2 separate regions of the Homo sapiens genome follow, and region 1 is linked to region 2. The links are contacts of gene promoters, found by promoter capture Hi-C in blood cells and fetal thymus (Javierre and others, 2016). All regions are on one chromosome and are shown on one strand. The core of a region is centred on a gene start or on the middle of the fragment in contact, and the rest is flanking DNA. Distances in the headings are between cores, read along the strand shown. Region 1 has its middle 160 kb from the start of ATXN7L3B. Region 2 holds the start of KCNC2 (potassium voltage-gated channel subfamily C member 2).

The links. Contacts are between HindIII fragments. The CHiCAGO score rates a contact against its expected background, and 5 or more counts as called.
Region 1: a fragment that was not itself captured here is called in contact with the fragment with the promoter of KCNC2 in region 2 in 1 of 17 cell types (endothelial precursors); the score reaches 5.1 in endothelial precursors.

Annotation. Positions count from the first base shown.
Region 1 is chr12:74,691,928-74,694,965 of GRCh38, reverse strand. No RefSeq gene overlaps it. Among named protein-coding and RNA genes, the nearest start is that of ATXN7L3B, 160 kb to the right of the region's middle. The HindIII fragment of the contact is 862 bases long and covers 1,229-2,090 here.
Region 2 is chr12:75,208,265-75,211,392 of GRCh38, reverse strand. It overlaps KCNC2 (potassium voltage-gated channel subfamily C member 2), which reads left to right and starts at 1,554. Exons shown (of 5, transcript NM_139137.4): 1 at 1,554-2,186. The HindIII fragment of the contact is 8,191 bases long and covers 1-3,128 here.

The DNA of each region.
Region 1 (3,038 bases), core at 410-2,909, 520 kb after region 2:
CCCAAAGTGCTGGGATTACAGGCATGAGAAACTGCACCCAGCCTCATTATGTATTTTTTTAAATCAACAAATAAAAATTATATATATTTATGGTATACGACATGATGTTTTAAAATATGTATTTCATATTCATATTTCAAGTATGTACTTAACCATTGTGGAATGGTTAAATCAAGCTAATTAATATTACCTCACATACTTATAACTTATTGGTGAGAACACTTCACATCTACTCTCTTAGAAATTTTCATCTATACAATACATTGTCATTAACCGTAGCAGCTGTGATGAACATTAGATCTCTTATTTCTCCCTTCTAACTGAAACTGTGTATCTTTGACCATCATATCCCTAATACTAAAAGGGATGAATTTGTTAAACAAGATACAAAAAACAATTAACAAATAAATATGACTAATAAATGTGATTAAATTAAAAATAAATGTCCATTAAGACACAAAGCCATGGCAGTAGAGTTTCTATTTGCAGCACTTCTAAGTGATGAATAATTTATATGCAGAATATTAAGAAATGAAACTGGCAGTAAATAAGTAAAAGAAAAAACATTTTCTTAGAAACATAAATTTATAAGCAGGCATATCACTGGAGTAGACATACTAAAGAAAAAAATACAATTGCAAGACTGTTAAGCTTCACTAGTAATTAAGTATATTCACATTACAATATGGAGGTAACATACTGACTAGATTAAGAATTAAAAACTGGCTGGGTGCGGTGGCGGTGGCGGTGGCTCAGGCTTGTAATCCCAGCGCTTCAGGAGGCCAAGTGGGGCAGATTAGTTGAGGTCAGGAGTTCAAGACCAGCCTGGCCAACATGGAGAAACCCGTCTCTACTAAAAATACAAGAATTAAACGGGTGTGGTGGCACGTGCCTGTAGTCCCAGCTACTCAGAAGGCTGAGGCATGAGAATCTCTTGAACCCAGGAGACAGAGGTTGCAGTGAGCCAAGATCACACCACTGCACTCCAGCCTGGGTGACAGAGCGAGACACTGTCTCGAAAAAAAAAAAAACGAAGGAGAATTAAAAACTTTAAAAATCATAAACATTGGTAAGGATGAAAAACAGTGAAAAACACTTCTGCATTGCATGCAGGACTATAAATTGCTACAGAATCTTGAAATTTCACAACGTCATAATGTTGAAAGTGTTCTTACTCTATAGCTCAGCATTTCTGCTCCAAAATCTCTGCTCCTATCCTATAGAAGCTTCTTTAGCTGGATAATTACCTAGAAAATGTTGTTGCACATATGCATCAGGATGCTTGCATAATAATACTGTGTGTGAGAAAAATCTAGACACAAACTAAAAGTATACCAGCAAGGGAATTGATAAAACACTTGTGGTACATTCATAATATAATACAATAAAATGTTCTATAATAATGAAAATATATCAGCCACAGCTGCATTTATCAATATCCATAAATCTCACAAGCACAATATTCAGCAGAAATATATTATTTGTATAACTTTTAAACACTTGCCAAGCTAACAGTGTAAATAACAATATAAAAAGGATGAAGCAAAACAGAGAAAGGATGTATTAGTCTGTTCTCACACTGCTAATAAAGACACACCCAAGACTGGGTAATTTATAAAGAAAAAGTGGTTTAATGGACTCACAGTTCCACATGGCCGGGGAGACCTCAAAATCATGGCAGAAGGCAAAGGAAGAGCAAAGGTACGTCTTACATGGCAGTAGGCAAGAGACCCTGCGCAGGGTAACTGCCTTTTATAAAACCATCAGATCTCCTGAGACTTTTTCACTATCATGAGAACAACATGGGAAAACCCTTCTTCCGTCATTCAATTACCTCCCACTGGGTTCTTCCCACAACACATGGGGATTATGGGATCTACAATTCAAGATGAAATTTGGGTGGGGACACAGCCAAACCATATCAAAGGACAAACACAAAATTCAGAATAACATTTCCTTCAGTGAAGGAGATATCTTAACTTGGGTGGTAGGTATAATAGCCTTTACAATTTTTTTAAGTCAATTGTCTATGTATATGCTAAAAATGAATTTAGTTTTTCATATTATAGTAAATTAAAATTTTTAAAGCTTCAACATGATCGTCAAATTATAAAAATGGATTTTTTCTTATATACTTGAGTTTTAAACTAAACTCCATATCCCCAACACATCTATTTTGTTGTGCTATTGATGAAAGCTATTGACGAGCTTTCATCAAGTTCATAAAATTATTAGGGTAAACGAAGATTATCTCTTCCCTCCCTTGATGCTCCCCTGCTCGCTTATCCTTGCAGAAGTGTGGATGTTTTCTATTCTCTGGAAAATTTGAAATGGAAAGATTCTCTACTCAGAGGGAGAATCTTGTTGAAAGTGGGATAATTTAATCTGTATACTTAACCATGAAAGTCTGGCTCTGAATACTAAAATAACTGAAGGAATAATTAAGAATTTACTTTTACTCATTTCCTTTTTCCCTCATCCCAACTCCTGATGGTCAGAAGAACTAAAAATTCATTTCAAGCAAAACTGAACAGTGTAAGAACGCACCTACTGATGGAGACCCTTCCTGAACTAGTTCATTCAGATGATCCTATAAGAAAGGCCACTAGCTGACAAGGCTACTCATGCACACAGAGTTTGCAATAGTGCTATTCTTAAATATGAAGGAACAGCCAAGTATTATCAGGCAATTGAAGAGAAATCTCTAACATTATTAAATGAGATAAACATACAAAAAAATAAAAAAAAGAAACTCAAAATAATTAAAAACACAGAAATGTGTGAGAGTGGATGAGGGCATATTGACCTAGGCTTATTTTTTCTAATAATGTTAAATATATATATTCCAGTATTTCTAACACTTTAATTTATTGATTTTTTAAGAAATCAAGACTTTTAACACTTAAAGAGCACTTAATAAATATTATTTATTATTTTAAGTGTTTTTGTTTATCCTATTCATGAAATGTATTATATTAGGGAATATCAATACCTTTATATATAATTTACTTTATATTTTATTTTAGCTTATTTTATAG
Region 2 (3,128 bases), core at 305-2,804:
ATGACTGTTAGAAGGTGAATATACTTTTTCTTTGTAATTTTTCTGGCAATTGAAATTTATTATCATTATTATTTTTGGAAATACCTCAGTGATTGATAATTGTACAAAATTAAAATAATTTTCTTCACATTAAAGCCTTATACATTTTTGTGTGTGTTAGTAACTCACATGCTGGGTACACATTGTCTTTACACATTTACTGTAAAATTGTCAGTAATTTAAAAAATAAATGTATATATTACATCTTTTGCATTTATTTTCTAGACATCAATGACCTTCCAAAGACCTTTTGGTTCTCTACTTTGTTAACCTATTTAATGTGTCATAACAGATAGACGTTTATTTGGTGAATTCACATTTTACTACCTGTCTTATCACTCTCTATATTGCTAAAATTTTCTTATTAATAACTCACAAATCTTGCTTTTTCTAAGCCATAGTATCATATCAATACCTGTTTATCAAAGAAATCTTCTTCCACAGAGGACCTGGTGTTTTCCTTACTGGGTGGACTTCAATTCTAACAAACTATGCCTGTAGAATAGTGTCTGCCTTCCTTCTTTTTCTTTCTTTCTTTCTTTCTTTCTTTCTTTCTTTCTTTCTTTCTTTCTTTCTTCTTTCTTTCTTTCTTTCATGGAATATGCACACAGATACACACATGTGCACGCACACACACACACACACACACGATCTGTTTGGTGATGAGGCCTGTTATAGGTTGAATAGTGCCCCTTCCCCTCATAAAAATTGTATTGGAGTCCTAACTTTCAGTACTTCAGAATGTAACCTTGTATGGAGATAGAATCTTTATAGAGATAGTGAAGTTGAAATGGGGTCATTTATGGCGGGCCCCAATCTAATATAACTGATATCCTTATAAAAAGAGGATGTTTGGACACAGAGACAGATATGCATGGAGAGAAAATAGTCAGAAGAGGCACAGGGAGAAGATGCCCATCTACAAGCCAAGGAGAGAGGACTGGAACATATTCTTCCTCCACAACCCTCAGAAGAAGCCAACCCTAACAACACCTTAATTTTGTATTTGAAACTGGCAGAACCATGAGACAATACATTTCTGCTGTTAAGCCACCCAGTTTGTCATACTTTCTTATGGCAGCCCTAGCAAACTAATACAAGGGGCAATGAAAACTTGAGAAAGGGTGAAATTGGCTTATTAAAAAATTACTTGGATACTTGGGTATCTGTGGATTTTCTCTTCAGCTTCAGACAAAAAGAAACCCTGGAGCTTGTACTTTGTAAAGCACTATCTTCCTGGGATAAACTTCTAAAACTTGTTTTGCTTTAGATAACCGTGGTGTGGTGGCTGGAGACTGACATTTGATTTGAAAAAGCAAGCCAGAGCTATGCATAAGACATAAAAAACAATATTTACTGTCACCTGTTAGTAGACCTCTCTCTCCGGCCAACTGTCATTGAGAAAAAAAAAATGCAATTGGTTTTAGATTCTCTCACTTGTTGGGAGGGGTGGGGCATAGCGAGGGGTGGGGGGAGAGAGAGGGTGTGGAGAGTGGGGTGTAAATAAGGCAGGCAGAAGCTCCAGAGAGGGTGGAGACAGAGCTTCACGGAAGAAAAATATGTGAACCTGGTTGGTACACATAGCTTCTCCAGACCCACCCACCCACTCTTTCCTGAGCCCTGTGCTTCGGATGGCGGCGGGAGGTTGATGGCGAGTGGTGCTGAAGGGACAGCTCCAGCAGTGGCTGATTTGGGGGAGAAACAAAATCTGCAGATGGAATCCGAGCAGGGCGACTTCACCTTCAAGTGGTGAGCTCTCCTGACCTGCGGCCAGTCTCCACTCCATTCACGGCCAGCCGATCTGCCCGCTCCCGGAGGGGTCGGGCAGTGCCGGCTGGACCCGCCCCGAGCTCCATGGTTTGCCCAACCCTGCGCGATGGTGACTCTGGGCGCGGAGGTTGGCGACTGGCAAATCCGCAGATCACAGAATGAAGGCGGGGAGCGCGGCCGGCGGCCGGCGGGGGCTTTCTCCCCCACCCCAGCGCCCAGGGAAGCGGCTCAACCACCTGAATCCGGAAAACGCCAACAAGTAGTTTCTCGTCGGAGAAGGGCGGCTCACCTGGGCGCCAAGACTCAGTCCCGCTGCCCAGAGAACCTCGTCCACTCGGAAACCAAAGCAGAACCACTTTTCTCTCGGTCTCGTTAAGGTATCTGGAAATGGGGGCGGGGGTGGTGAAAGGGGCGATTTCCTGGAAAGGGCATGTTGACCCTGCAGGCCAGCATCCCCCCGCTCCGCCTTTCCGCAATAGGAATGTAGAGATGAAGCCCTGGGGAGAGGTGGCTGGGAGGCTGGAAACAGGGACACTGTCAGCGAGACTTTCAGCTCAGGGACCCAGGGGGTGTGCCTCCAAGCAGCTTTTCCCCGAGCCTCGCCCCTCCTAGAAAGCAAATCCCCCACCCTCCACCCACTAAGGGATTTGTTTTTCTTGGGAAGGGGGATGGGTGGGATGCATTGATCACTTCTATTCTTAAAGATGGATCTTAGTTAGTTGTTTCCTTTCCCAAGTAATAATAATATCAACAACAATAATAATAATAACGTGAAAAGGAAATCGAATGAGGAAATAAGTCAGAGGTCTCCTAGGTGAAAAGCAACAGCAGAGATTTTTTTTTTCTCTGACTTCTGTGTTGTCTTTTTGCTTGGTCTGTGAGCAGGTGTAGAGGTGATCCTAGAACAGGTTGCTCAGAAGGCACTCCCTGAGCGCTAGGGAGTAGAGAGGGGTCCGGGGTTGACCTAGGGTGGGTGTGGAATCCGGGCTCTTCACAGGGTGGGGGGAGGGTGTGCTCTCACCCAACACTGCCAAGTTGCCTGAGGAAAACTCCCTGCCTAAGAGAATTGCATCCAAGCTAGGGGAAGGGGAGAAAGAGGAGGGTCTTGGAGAGTGGGAATGAGAGGCCAACCAGGGGAGGAGGAGAGAATGGGGCAAAGGAGGGGGAGAAAGTAGGTTTAGAGGGAGAGAGAGTGTGTTTGGGGAGGCAGAGAGGGGGTTAGGGGCTGGGAGCAGGTTGGACTTGAGTGGGAACAGAAAAGAGGAAGAGTGGAAGGTGAAAAGATGAAGGTGAAGAGATCAGAGCCAAAAGAAAGGAAA